Regions from separate parts of the Homo sapiens genome. Here region 1 is linked to region 2. The links are contacts of gene promoters, found by promoter capture Hi-C in human tissues and cell types (Jung and others, 2019). All regions are on one chromosome and are shown on one strand. Each heading gives the region's core, a stretch centred on a gene start or on the middle of the fragment in contact. The rest is flanking DNA. Distances are from core to core; before and after follow the strand shown.

Region 1 (6,868 bases), core at 1,800-4,299, 230 kb after region 2:
GAAGAATAAGTGACATTCAGTGGATTTTAAGAGGGAAGAATAAGTGACGTTCAGTGGATTTTAAGAGGGAAGAATAAGTGACGTTCAGTGGATTTTTAAGGCAGTGAAACTATTCTGTATGATATTGTAATGGCGAATACATGTTGTTATACATTTGTTAAAACCCATAGAATATACAGCACAAAGAGTGAACCGTAATATAAACTATGGTCTTTAGTTAATAATAATTTATCAACATTGGCTCATCAATTTTAACAGATGTACCACACTAGTGCAAGATGTTAATAATAGAGAAACTGGGGGAGGAGGGGAGAAGGAAGGAGTATACTGAAACTCTACTTTCTGCTCAATTTTTCTATAAACCTAAAACTGTTCCCAAAATGTTCTATTAAATTTAAAATATAAGAATGTTAAATATGCTTATGGTAAGGTCTCAGAAGGAAATTAATGACATGCAATTAGAAACTGAAGGAATGGTTATCTTGTTATAAAGTGGGAGAGCCTTGGCTGAATTGTATTCTATATTTGGGTGGAAAACAGAATTTGTACATGATGAACTTGAATATTTAGTTAAGAAGACTTCCAAGTAAAATGTGGAATGTGCAACCTGGTTAGTTATTGCTGCTTATGGTGAAATGCATGAGGAAAGAAATAAACTGAGGAAGGAACTATTCAGCACAAAGGAACCAGCACTCATGATTTGGAAAACTTTTAGCCATACCTTATACAAATGAGGCTTTCAATACATGTTGAGGACACAGAAAGATATAATTTTTGTCTTCAGTGACTTCTCTATATGTTGCACAAAGTGGCCTCCAACTCCTGACCTCAAGCAATCCTCCCACCTCGGCCTTCCTAAATGCTGGGGTTACAGTCCATAAGCCACTGAACCCAGCCCTCAGAAACCTTTTGTGCTTAAAAAAACACCTCAGCAAAATACAAAGCAACTAGTGATATATTTGAACTGAAATTACTAATCAACTTTGGCTTGTTTTACTGTAACAATGACTAGGGACTGGCCACAGCTGCAATCTTACTTGTTTTACTGGGCTGAAAACAAAAACATAGTAGAATGGATCTCAGTAAAGGTAGAGAGTCAGGACTTAGTTGCAGGAAACAAAAACCAGTCCAGTTTCTACTTTAGCCCTAAATTGGAAACAAATCAAATGTCCTTCTATACTTAAAAAGGCAAATTGTCAGTTTTTCTTCAAATACAAGGAATACAAAGAAAATACATTTTTTTTCTACAAAGAAAAAAAAGTTAGCTAGGAGTGGTGGTGCATGCTTCTATTCCTAGCTACTCTGGAGGCTGAGGCAGAAGGATGGCTTGTGCCCAAGAGTTCAGGTTACAGTAAGCTATGATGGTGCCACTGCACTCCAGTCTGTGTGATAGAGTAAGACCCTGATTCTAAAATTTTTTTAAATTTCTTAAAAGAGATTTGATATTTCTTTGGTATCTAACTTTATTCAAAGCTGGAGTTGCAAATGATTTCAGCAAAAAAAAATAAAGATGTGCTTGATAAAAATATGTCCACCAAATAAAAAGGATGTGATATGCATTAACTATGAACAACAATCTATAGCACAACTTATATTTGTATGGACACCTGGCTACCCCATCAAACTGCTTCATGTCTATTCCCTCAAATTATGGTCTTCCATAAAACTAGTGAATTTCTTTTAGTCTTCTTTTGAGCCTGTAGGGGTGAGAGAATCTTTTTTCTCCCTTCTGGAGGTTGGATATTTGAGTCTGAGAAATAAAGCTGCTAGTAGACAGATTAACAGAAGAAAAGGCATACACATTTATTATGCACATATGCACAGAGGTCCCAGAAAGTGTAAGTGAGACTCAAAGAAGGGGCAGATGGTTGAAGCTTAAATAGGACTTGGAGCTACATAAAGAAATAGGAGCTTGAAGGCTCCTGGAAGGTGGTGGCGAGAAGCAATGTGAGGGTCAGGGCAGGAACAGCTCTGGGAACAAAGCTTGTCTTATTATACAGATAAAGTCTCTCAAGTAGCAGCCCTCAGAATAGGTGGTGAAGAAAAGAATTGAAGTCTGGCTGGGCGAGATGTCCCGGGCATGGAGACCTTTAGTTTTCTCTCCTGGGATCTGAGTTAATCTTCTCTGGTTAATACAGATTCCAGGAGAGGGTTCATGACAATCTCTTTCCTTCTGGAGGAACCTCCGTAAGTCAAATAAGGGAAACTTCAGTGAAAGCCCCTCCCTGCCATTCAAGAAAGAAAGAGGATCAGGAGGCAGTGGGGCTGCGGAAGGTCAGAGAGACTTTGATTCTGAGGTTGCTTCTTTAGTTCAAAGTACTCAGCACTTCCAAGAGCCATACTTTGGGGTATCATTTTCTGAGCTCTAACAAGGGTCCTCAGAAAATCTCTGTCTCTTCCCTTCCCGGTCTTCCTTCGTTTCTCCTCTTCCTCTTCCTCCTCTTCTTTCTCCTTCATCCTCTTCTTTCTACCTCCTGTCCCTCCTTCCTTTCTCTCTTCTCCTTTCTGGTCACTTTCTTCTTTTCCTCTTCCTTCTTGTCCCTCTTCCTCATTTATCTACTTAGTCGACATGATTTCTTAGCTTGCGATTGTTTCCCTCTTTTCTTAGATTAGTATATGGTTCCAAGAAGTAGATGAAAGCCAATTACAATAATCTGTGCATCCAAAGGGCTCAGGGAAACTCCAGGACCGGCAGCTTTAGACTTCAAGACGGAAGCATAAGAGGAAAAGAAAACATACTGCGTGGGTTAGATTTTGAGAGAAGGAGCGTCTGCCTTGGCCAAAAATCAAAGTAGGATCTTCCTTTTGATAGGTAACCTGGTTCCATGGGAACTCATGAACAATCTATAAATTTCTTTCTTAACCCAACTGAAGCGTGGAAGCGCATTGTGAAATGCAAAATGCCGTGCAAACGAGACCGGGTAGATATACTCCCTTGGGTTGGTGTGAGCCTAGAGACTTAGGGACCTCATCAGAGCAAGAAAGTGCAAGTAGGCTTTTCTGCATCATTTTCTGGCCCTCCAGTTCAGACACAAATCAAAAGTTAGTCCCTTCTTGAAAGCCATTAGCATTCATCAAGGAGCCTCAATGAGAGGAAGTTTCAAACAAAAACTAAATGTGTCAGGCCCAGATTTACGGTGAGGGTCTGATTCCACTTCCTTGCGGGGTCAGTTTGGGTCCAGGTGAGAGAGGTACAGTGGTCTCTAGTTTTCTGGAAACGGTACTGCTGATAGGGCAAGGACTCCTTGCGGCTGCCCCAGAGAGGTTGGCTTGTCTTATCCAACTTGCACTTCACGTTAGAGTTTCTAATGAACTCGCAGACTCCAGTTTCTTGCCCAGGAAACCATTTTTACCGTATTTTGTTCTTTTGACCGTTTCTTGTCAGTTAGCTGGTGTAAATTCTGTTTAAAGATGTGAAGGGAGCCTTCTCCATTCGTGTAGTCGTGGCCGAGTGGTTAAGGCGATGGACTAGAAATCCATTGGGGTCTCCCCGCGCAGGTTCGAATCCTGCCGACTACGGGATGTTTTACTGAGAACAGTTCAGCGAGGAAATAGGATCTCACATTTGCTTTCAGTTTGGGAGTAAAGAAACTCGTGATAGAGCCTCTGCGTGTCACCTAACATAGCCTGAACTTTTGCCGACTTCGGGATGTTTTACTGAGAACAGTTCAGAGAGGAAATACGATGTCATATTTGCTTTCAGTTTGGGAGTAAAGGAACTCGTAATAGAGCTTCTGCGTGCCACTTAACGCAGCCTGAACTTTTGCCGACTTCGGGATGTTTTACTGAGAACAGAGAGGAATCGTATTTACTTCAGAGAGGAAATACGATGTCATATTTGCTTTCAGTTTGGGGGCGAGGGAACTCGTGATAAAGCTTCTGCGTGCCACTTGACGCATCCTGAACTTTAAAAATACATCTGCAGACTCTTTATCTATTTTACCTCAACGGAGCGCAGGTATTGGTCCCACCTCTGCTTTTCCTGTCTTTGAAACCAACCGATGCACCTTTCGGGATTTGTAACTCCTATGTTAGCTAGGGCTCCAACCATGGTTGAACATAGACGGAAACCAGTGCGTCACAAAGGAGGCTAGCGAGAGTTCTTTTTTAAAAGGGTCTGACAAAGCGTCCGAGGAATGAAGGAGGAACTGGAGAGGATTCGCGGTTGGGCGGAGACACGTTCGCTGAATTGCCTTGCGTATATTTGGTAGGGGAAACGTGTGACTACAGAGCAAAGAAAGATGGACAATAGCGAGTAACTTCACAGGGATTTCCTAAGAGCTCCATTTTCACGTCAATTCCTCGTTAGTATAGTGGTGAGTATCCCCGCCTGTCACGCGGGAGACCGGGGTTCGATTCCCCGACGGGGAGGAGGCTTAAACTTTTTTTTAGAAAAGCACACTTCCGGTAAACACAGTCTCTAGTCTTCTGGGCAAATGTTGGGTTCTCTTTTTCTTTAGCAGAGTTCTTTCAAACCAACGAAATACTGATCGCAAAAACCATAAGCTGTAGAAATCATGAGGTTCTGTAATAGCAAGAAAATTTCCACTCTGCACTGTAATCTCCATCACAGTGGAGAAACCGGGTAGATACCATCTTACCCAAGTGATTGAATCAGTATTGGGACGAATCTACATTATATACCTTTTTTACAGGATGTGCTCATGAGAGCACAACGTCACTTTTGTGGTATTCTTGGCAAAAATATGTAATCTAAATCAGAAAACATCAGACAAACCCATATTGAGGGAGATTTTAACAAAATAACTGACTTGTACGCCTCAAAAACTGCAATTACTTTTGCATCAACCTAGTAACAGGCAAGCAGGGAGGAAAAATAAATAAATAAATAAATAAATAAATAAACAAATAAATAAAATAACAAAGTTACAGAACACAAAGAAAGGCTGACTAAATAGTCCACATTATAGAAGATCTTAAAGATATGACAGCAACATATGGTCTGGAATTTTTATCTTAAAGGACATTATTGAAATAGTTGGTGAAATCTCAATAAAGTCTATAGATTTTATAATATTATGAATGTGAATTCCTGATTGTATTAATTGTTCTATGGTTATAGAACAAAATGTCTTTAAGAAAATTCACACCTATTTACAAAATACGTATTTAAGGGTAAGGGGAGGTATGTGTCTTCAAACTCACTGTCAAATAGTTCAGAAATATACATTTATGTATATATATGAGAGAGAGAAGGAAAAGAAAATATAGGAATATCCTTAATGTGCTAATATTGAGGGAATTGGGGTGAAGGGTGCTCAGGAATTATCTGTATTATTCATGTACTGTGTCTGTCAGTCTAAAATAATTTCAGAATGGAAAGTTAAAAGGAGAAAAGCCTAATAAAACTATAAATGAAAATATACGAATTAAAATGTAAAAGGGCAAATATACAATTTTGAACAATGCATATGACAAGAGTGACGACTACATTAATGAATAGGAATTTAGAACTGATGAAGGAGTGGGATTCAAAATGTTATAAGTGAGCAAGAAAATTCATAACATGTGACAAAAGCTACATAAAGAGTGAATGCCTGAAACAACATTGTTTCGTAATGATTACATGTTGGAATATGAAAACAAATGGTACTAAATTTCAAAACAGCAACGACAATATAAAATGGAAAGGTATGGCGAAATCCAAATCATTCTAAGCTCCTTTATAATAAGGTAGGAATTAGAAGTGTACCTAGTATATACCCTCGACCAACGCTGAATGGATGAATATTAAAAGCAATATTTTTGTGAGCCATAATCAAAGCCAACAGCATTGCTTCTTTAATGAAAGAATACTCTTCCAGCATATAACAATATGTCTGATTTTGTTTTAAAAATACTTATTGGCCAGGCGAGGTGGCTCATGCCTCTAATCCAAGCACTTTGGGAGGCTGAGGCGGGTGGATCACCTGAGGTCTGGAGTTCGATACCAGCCTGGCCAACCTGCTGAAACCCCATCTCTACTAAAAATACAAAAATTAGCTGGGTGTGGTGGCGGGCACCTGTAATCCCAGCTACTCGGAGGCTGAGGCAGGAGAATCACTTGAACCCGGGAGGCGGAGGTTGCAGTGAACCAAGATTGCAGCATTGCACTCCAGCCTGGGCGACAGAGCAAGACTCTGTCTCCAAAAAAAAAAAAAAGAAAAATAATTATTATTAACATTTTTGTCATGAAATTTTGGCCATCAAATTTAAAAGTTAATATTATTGTGCAACACTTTCAGCCAATGGATTCTTTTTTTCGTTAACACTATTGAACAGTAGAGTGATTGATGCCTCATCCTTTTCACCTAACATTGAATCTCGTTTGTCTCTATTACTTCCTTTTAATCTATTATTTCTTTTTTAATCTAGAAGAAAAATGATTCATCGTGGATAAGAACTATAAAGCAATTGTTTTGTTTGTTTGTTTGTTTCTGGCTTTTTTTTTTTTTTGAGACAGAGTCTCGCTCTATCGCCCAAGCTGCTGTGCAATGGCGCAATCTTGGCTCACCACAACCTCTGCCTCCTGAGTTCGAGCCATTCTCCTGGCTCAGCCTCCCGAGTAGCTGGGATTGCAGGCGTGTATTTTGAGTAGAGACAGGGTTTCACCACGTTGGCCAGGCTGGTCTTGAACTCCTGACCTCGTGATCTACCTGCCTCAGCCTCCCAAAATGCTGGGATTACAGGTGTGAGCCACCAAGCCCGACTTAAAGCAACTGTTTGAAGGCACTGATAAGCTGTCAACCCAGGCAAGGCTTGACAAACTACAATCCTTGAGAGAAGGGAAGCACATTATATGAGTTTGCACATTTGAAAGTGCTTTCCTCCTGAAGGTGTGTCCCGTATTGCACCATTGTGGAATAGA
Region 2 (6,416 bases), core at 2,364-4,863:
GAAATAAACCAAATGCACATTAACCAATTAATAGATAGCTCAAACATAGTATATCCATAAAACAGAATATTATTCAGCCATAAAAGGAAATGAAATGCTGATACCTGCTATAACATGGATGAACCTCAAAAACATTATGCTAAGTGGAAGAAGCCAGACATAAAAAAGCATGTATTGTAGAATTCCTTTTATATGGAATGTTCAAAAAAGGAAAATAAATATATAGAGAAAATAGATTAATGGTTGTCTATGGCTAGGAATAGAAATGGGAATTCACTGCAAATAGGCATGAAGAGACTTTTTGGGGGTTACTGAAAATGTTCTAAAACTGGATTCTGCTGATAGTTAAACAAATCTGTAAATCTACTTAAAAAATTAAAATTTACACTTAAAAACAGGTGAGTATTATGGTATGTAAATTATACCTAACAAAAGTGATTTTTTTTAAAAAAAGAGTTCAAGAGTCTTCTACAGTGGCTGTTTCCTTTTACATTTCCAATGCTTGTATTGCCTATCTTTATCAGAGCCATTTTTGTCAATATGAAGGATTATCTCATAGTTTTAATTTGCATTTTAGTGGCCGGGTGCAGTGGCTCACGCCTGTAATCGCAGCACTTTGGGAGGCCGAGGTGGGTGGATCTCTTGAGGTCAGGAGATCGAGACCAGCCTGGCCAACATGGTGAAACCCCATCTCTACTAAAAATACAAAATAGCCGGGCATGGTGGCGTGCACCTGTAATTCCAGCTGCTTGGGAGGCTGAGGCAGGAGAATCACTTGAACCCAGGAGGCAGAGGTTTTAGTGAGCCAAGATCATGCCACTGCATTCCAGCCTGGGTGACAGAGCAAGACTCTGTCTCCAAAAATAAATAAATAAATAAATAATAATTGCATTTTAGTAACGACTAATGATGTTGAGCATCTTGTCATGTGCTTATTGGCCATTGGTGTATTTTCTTTGGAGAAATCCCTGTTCAAACCCTTTTTCCATTTCCAATTGTGCTATTTGTCTTATTATTGAGTTGGGATAAACATCCCTGTCTTTCCAGTCTAGCAATTAAAACAACTAAGTAAATTCGTATTTATCGAAAAATAAATTTAGAAATTTATTAATACATTTTTTTAAATATAGGTTCTTACTGTGTTGCCCAATATGGAGTGCAGTGGCTATTCACAGGCTCGATCACAGTGTACTGCAGCTTTGAACTCCCAGCCCTCTCGTCCCAGCCTCCCAAGTAGCTGAGAATACAGGCATGCACCACCACACCCAACTTTAAATTCACTTATGTATTAAGGTTTTAAAAGACCCTTACGGCAACATATCAGTCCTTTTTTTTTTTTTTTGAGATGGAGTCTAGCTCTGTTGCCCAGGCTAGAGTGCAGTGGCATGATCTCGGCTCACTGCAAGCTCCACCTCCCGGGTTGAAGCGATCCTCCTGCCTCAGCCTCCTGAGTAGCTGGGATTACAGGCGCCTCCCCACCATGCCCAGCTAATTTTTGTAATTGTACTAGAGACAGGGTTTCACCATGTTGGCCAGGCTGGTCTCGAACTCATGACCTTGTGATCCAGCTGCCTCGGCCTCCCAAAGTGCTGGGATTACAAGCGTGAGCAACTGCGCCCGGCCATATATCAGTCTTTAAATAAAAGCCAAAGCCCTTTCTATGGCTTGCCAGCAGGGTTGAATCTCTGATTACTTCTCTCTTCTCATCTAATTCAAATTCCTTCATTGACTTTCCAGCCCACTAACTGTTGATGTTCCTTGGTGGTGCCAAGCAGGTTTGTGACTCAGAGTCTTTGCACCTGCTCTTTCTTGGGCCAGAAACCCTCTGACTCCAGATAACCTCATGCTCCCCCTGGCTCCTCATTCTTACCTCAAGTATTTTTTTCCCTGCCTTCCTCCCTCCCCACTCACTCCCTTGCCTCAACTCTTAGGTCACATTCTTAGGGAATTCTTTCCTGAGCAGAAAACTAATTCATTAATTAATCAATTTATCCATATAGCCTTTTGCTCACTGCATATTCATTGAGAACCTTTCAAGTGCCTTGAAGTAGTTTGGGTGTTATGGGTACACCAGTGAACAAAACAGACAAAATTGCTTCCCAGAATAAGCTTACTTCCTGGGGAATGGTTTGGGAGAGAAGTGCAATAAAATGTCATCACTATCAGGGAGTGACAACAGAAGGATCAGGGGACAGGGTCTCAGGTGTTGTGCCATTTATAAGGGTGGTCAGGTAAAACCCATTTGGTAAGATAAAATATATGAATGGGGAACTATAGGAAGTGATAAAATAAGACTTGCAGATATTTGGAGGAAAAGCATCCTAAGGAGAGCAAAAATTCTAAGGAAGGAGTGAGTCTTGTGAAATATGAAATAGTCCAATGCAGTTGGAGCAGTGAACCCAGGAGGGGTAGGAGATGAAATCATGACAGTATATACAACAGGGGGCCAGGTCATACAGAGTTTTAAAAACTGTTTTCAAAACTTTAGATTTACTTTGAGTAAGATGGGGCATCAGGGAAGTGTTCTAAACCAGGGAGTGAATGATTGTGAATGATTGGGCTAATATTTAATTCTGTCTCTCTGTCTGCTGAGTGTAGAATAAATCATGAGGCAGAAACAGGGTGACCAGCTAAAAGCCTTCCATGATATCCCAAGTCAGAGATGATGGTGGCTCAGCAGTGGTAGCACTGAAGGTAGTGAGAAGTCATCAGATTCTGGATATATTTTTTAAATTTATGGGAATAACTTTTTAAATGTACAATATTTCTCATAGTGATAAGTCCCATGAAAAAGAATTAGGAATAAAGTTTGAAAAGGAATAGAAGAGGGCCATAGGTTTGGCAATTTTTAAAAAGCTGACCATGGAAGACCTTTCTGAATGAATGACCTTTGAATAAAGATCCAGTTGAAGTGAGGGAGCAAACCACGTGGGTATATAGGGAAATCACAATCCATAGGGTGGGAACAACAAGAATAAGAACCCTAAGGCAGAAGCAAGCCTGGTATGTTCAAAGAACTGTAAGGAGTCTATGGACAGTGTGAGATTGTGGGTCAGAGAAGCTCGGGACAGTGAAGCAGAGCAGAAAGTGAGGGGGCTGGAAAATAGACAAGGTGAGATTGGGGGACAAAGAGATGAGTATGGAGAGAAAGACTGAAAAAGAGATGGGGGACTGAGAAAAAAGAGACGGAAAGACTGAGTGTGGGAACAACTGAGGGGTACTGAAGATATGCTGAGGGGCAGAAAGAAAAGACTGAGAATAAGTGGGCAACTGGGGTTCCAGAGGAGGTGCTGAGGTGGGGAGAGACAGAGGTTGAAGGACAATAAGGCATGCAAAGGAGGAATCTGAGATAAAGAGAAGGTAGACCGAAGAGCGGAGAGGAGGAGACTGAGACAGCGAGGGCTACTGAGAGCTGAGGGAAGAACAGACTGAGAGGCCCAGAGAGAAGAAACTGGGAGTTCCGATGCTGCATCAGCAGCCTCTGTGTACAGACTCTGGCGTCCCTGCCCCGCTTTAGCAGTTCCTACAGACGCTTGACCTGCCAGGAAAGGAAAGAAACCTGAGCCTCTGCTGAAAGGTGATGGATTTAAGGCCCGGCTGCTGAGGATAAGATAAAGGTCCTCCTGGGGGAGAACAGAGTCCCGAACACCATGGCCGTCTGGCTTGCCCAGTGGCTGGGCCCTCTGCTCTTGGTTTCCCTCTGGGGACTCTTGGCTCCAGGTAAGAGGAGGCTGAGGGTCAAGCAGGGCATCCTAAGGGGGCCAGCCTGACTTCCTTCCCTCCATGTCCCACAGCCTCCCTTCTTAGGCGCCTGGGTGAGCACATTCAGCAGTTTCAGGAGAGCTCTGCCCAGGGCCTGGGCCTGAGCCTGGGGCCAGGTGCTGCAGCCCTCCCAAAAGTGGGGTGGCTGGAGCAACTGCTGGACCCCTTCAACGTGTCCGACAGACGATCCTTCCTACAGGTGAGGCCGGGAGACGGGGAGTCCACTAACCATCCTGCCCTCTCCTCAGTCTCCCTCATCTCTTCCTCAGTCTGCACTTTTTTCTCTCTCCACACCTCAGTTCTCCCCATCCCTCTGCTTGAATCTCATGTTATGCTTGCTGTCAGTATCCCTTTTCCTGCCCTTTGTAGATTTGGCCTTACTCTCTCCTCTCCTCGGGGTCCCACTCGTTTTGTCCCTCAGATCTTGCCCTTCACCATTTCTTTCTCTCTGTCATTCACATTCACTGCTCCTCCCTACCCCCTTGTCCCTGTCCAGACTGGACACAAAACCTACCACCAGGTCTCAGTAGGTAGCAGAAATTTGAACCAGCTTTGGAATCAGACCTAGCTCACAACAGGCACTCAAAGATATCTATCGAAAGAAGGAACAAATTCGCCATTTTTCAGTGCTTCCTCTGTATTTAGTCTCCAAATATCATCCCACTTGGATCTTATTCCTAAATCCATCTGCATTTATTTCTTATTTTACAATTATTACTTCAAGAAATAGCAAGTTCCTTCAATGTGAGAGCCACTCCCTCAGTTCTGGGGATATAAGAGTGAAAAACCAGGTCAAAAATTTGCTTTTGTATATTTTGCATTCTAGATGAGGAGATGAACAGGGGAAAAGTGAGCAAGTAAATAAACAAGCTCATTTCAGACACTGTTAAGTACATAAGGAAAGATCCATTAGGAAGAGAGACTGGAACAAATGAGGAATTGAGAATAAGTCAGGACTCTCACAGTGCCATTTCTTCTTCCCCATCCCACCTCTCAGCGTTACTGGGTGAATGACCAACATTGGGTTGGCCAGGATGGACCCATATTCCTGCATCTAGGGGGTGAGGGCAGCCTTGGGCCTGGCTCAGTGATGAGAGGTAAGAGGCAATGTTGGGGGAAAGGAGTTGGGATGCTGGTGGGGACCAGGAAGGGGAGCTGCATATTGCAATGCTGTGAGACCTGAGGAGTGAAAGGGCTTAAACTCAACTTGCATCTCACCTCCCCACCCCCCACCCATACACTCTTCACAGGCCATCCCGCAGCCTTGGCCCCAGCCTGGGGCGCCCTGGTGATAAGCCTGGAACACAGATTTTATGGCCTGAGTATACCTGCTGGAGGCCTGGAAATGGCCCAGCTCCGCTTCTTGTCCAGCCGCCTTGCGTGAGTGGAGGAAGGGAAAGTGTTTATGGTCAAAGGACAGGAATGTCTGTGCTTTGGCATCTCTGCATCTGTGTCTCTCTCCTCCACTGTCTGAAGTCAACCTCTGAGTCTCTGGTTCCCTCTGTTTTCTTCTGTGTTTCATAGGGTCTTGTTTTTTCTCTTTCCATTTCTGGGTCTCTGACTCTCCCTATCTGTCTTTCTCTTATCCTGTGTTCTTTCTATTTCTGCGTCTCTGTCTGAAGTAAGCCACTGTATCACTGTGCAGACCACCAGCATTCCTTACCTGGATTACGGCCACAGCATTCTCACCATTTTTCCTGCTCTGCCCTTGACTTCCAGGTGGAAATCAGAGTAATTCTGTTAGAGCATAAACCAGGACATGATCCTCCCTGGCTTAAGTCCCTCAGACATCTTCTGTATTGCTTCAGAAGTAAAGCAATTTTGACTGTATTTGACTTCAGAGTAAAGTCAAAGCTTTTACAGTCGCCATGGAGTCCAGTGGGTTTTGGCCTCTAGTTAACTCTGACCTATACTCTCTCACTTTCACTGGGCTCCAGCTACATTGAAGTCCTCACTGTCCTCCAGACTTACACGCACATTCCTGCCTTGAGCCTTTGAACTCATCCCTCTGCATGGCGTGGCCTTCCCCTAGATGTTTTTATGCCTCTCACCCCAGCCTCCTTCAGTGCATCTCACTCCTATTAACGACCGCCACCATTTTTCCAACTTTACTTCACCTGCTTTTTGTTTCTTTCATCTGCTTTATTCTTACAGAACTTAGCTTTTTCTTTCCTCATTGGTATCTCTGTCTGTGTCTGTAACAGTCTGTTTGCCTGTCTCATTTTCTCCGTCTCTGTATCTACATCTGTGCCTCTTTGTCTCCATCTCTGTCTCTCTGCATCTTAATCTTTTCTACAAGCGAAACGGTTTTCTAACTGCAACAGGATGGTACCAACTGCAAGCCATTCAGAAAGGTTAGGGAAGAAAGAAAGCCCTTGGGAGGAGAAAGAGGATGTTAGACATATCCAAACTTCACTCTCCATTTCTCTTTGTGTCTGTTCTCTCTCCCAATACCTTGCAACTCATCAGGTTAGGACCCCTCCTTCTCCTCTTAGTAGCCCTCCTTGAGTGCCCTCAACCCTTCCCTACATTTGTCAGGTTTTCATCTAAACTGACTTGGAAATTTTTCCTCTCCTACCTAAAACGAGAAGGGAAAGAGGGTGGTGGCTTTCTAGAAAGTGGACGAGGACAGGGTCTCCCTTGGCCTAGGCACA

What was found. Contacts are between HindIII fragments. The study calls those that stand out against the background at their distance.
Region 1: a contact is called between a fragment that was not itself captured here and the fragment with the promoter of PRSS16 in region 2, in 2 of the 25 tissues and cell types used here (mesendoderm cells and neural progenitor cells).

The regions. Positions count from the first base shown.
Region 1 is chr6:27,475,375-27,482,242 of GRCh38, forward strand. It overlaps TRS-AGA2-2 (tRNA-Ser (anticodon AGA) 2-2), which reads left to right and starts at 3,438; the gene lies at 3,438-3,519. TRD-GTC2-6 (tRNA-Asp (anticodon GTC) 2-6) reads left to right here and starts at 4,300; the gene lies at 4,300-4,371. It overlaps LOC105375001 (a long non-coding RNA gene), which reads left to right. Exons shown (of 2, transcript XR_926664.4): 2 at 1-606. RefSeq lists a silencer at 4,353-4,412. The HindIII fragment of the contact is 5,093 bases long and covers 504-5,596 here.
Region 2 is chr6:27,244,088-27,250,503 of GRCh38, forward strand. PRSS16 (serine protease 16) reads left to right here and starts at 3,614. Exons shown (of 12, transcript NM_005865.4): 1 at 3,614-3,720; 2 at 3,795-3,961; 3 at 4,760-4,859; 4 at 5,013-5,142. The coding sequence starts at 3,651. The HindIII fragment of the contact is 6,552 bases long and covers 634-6,416 here.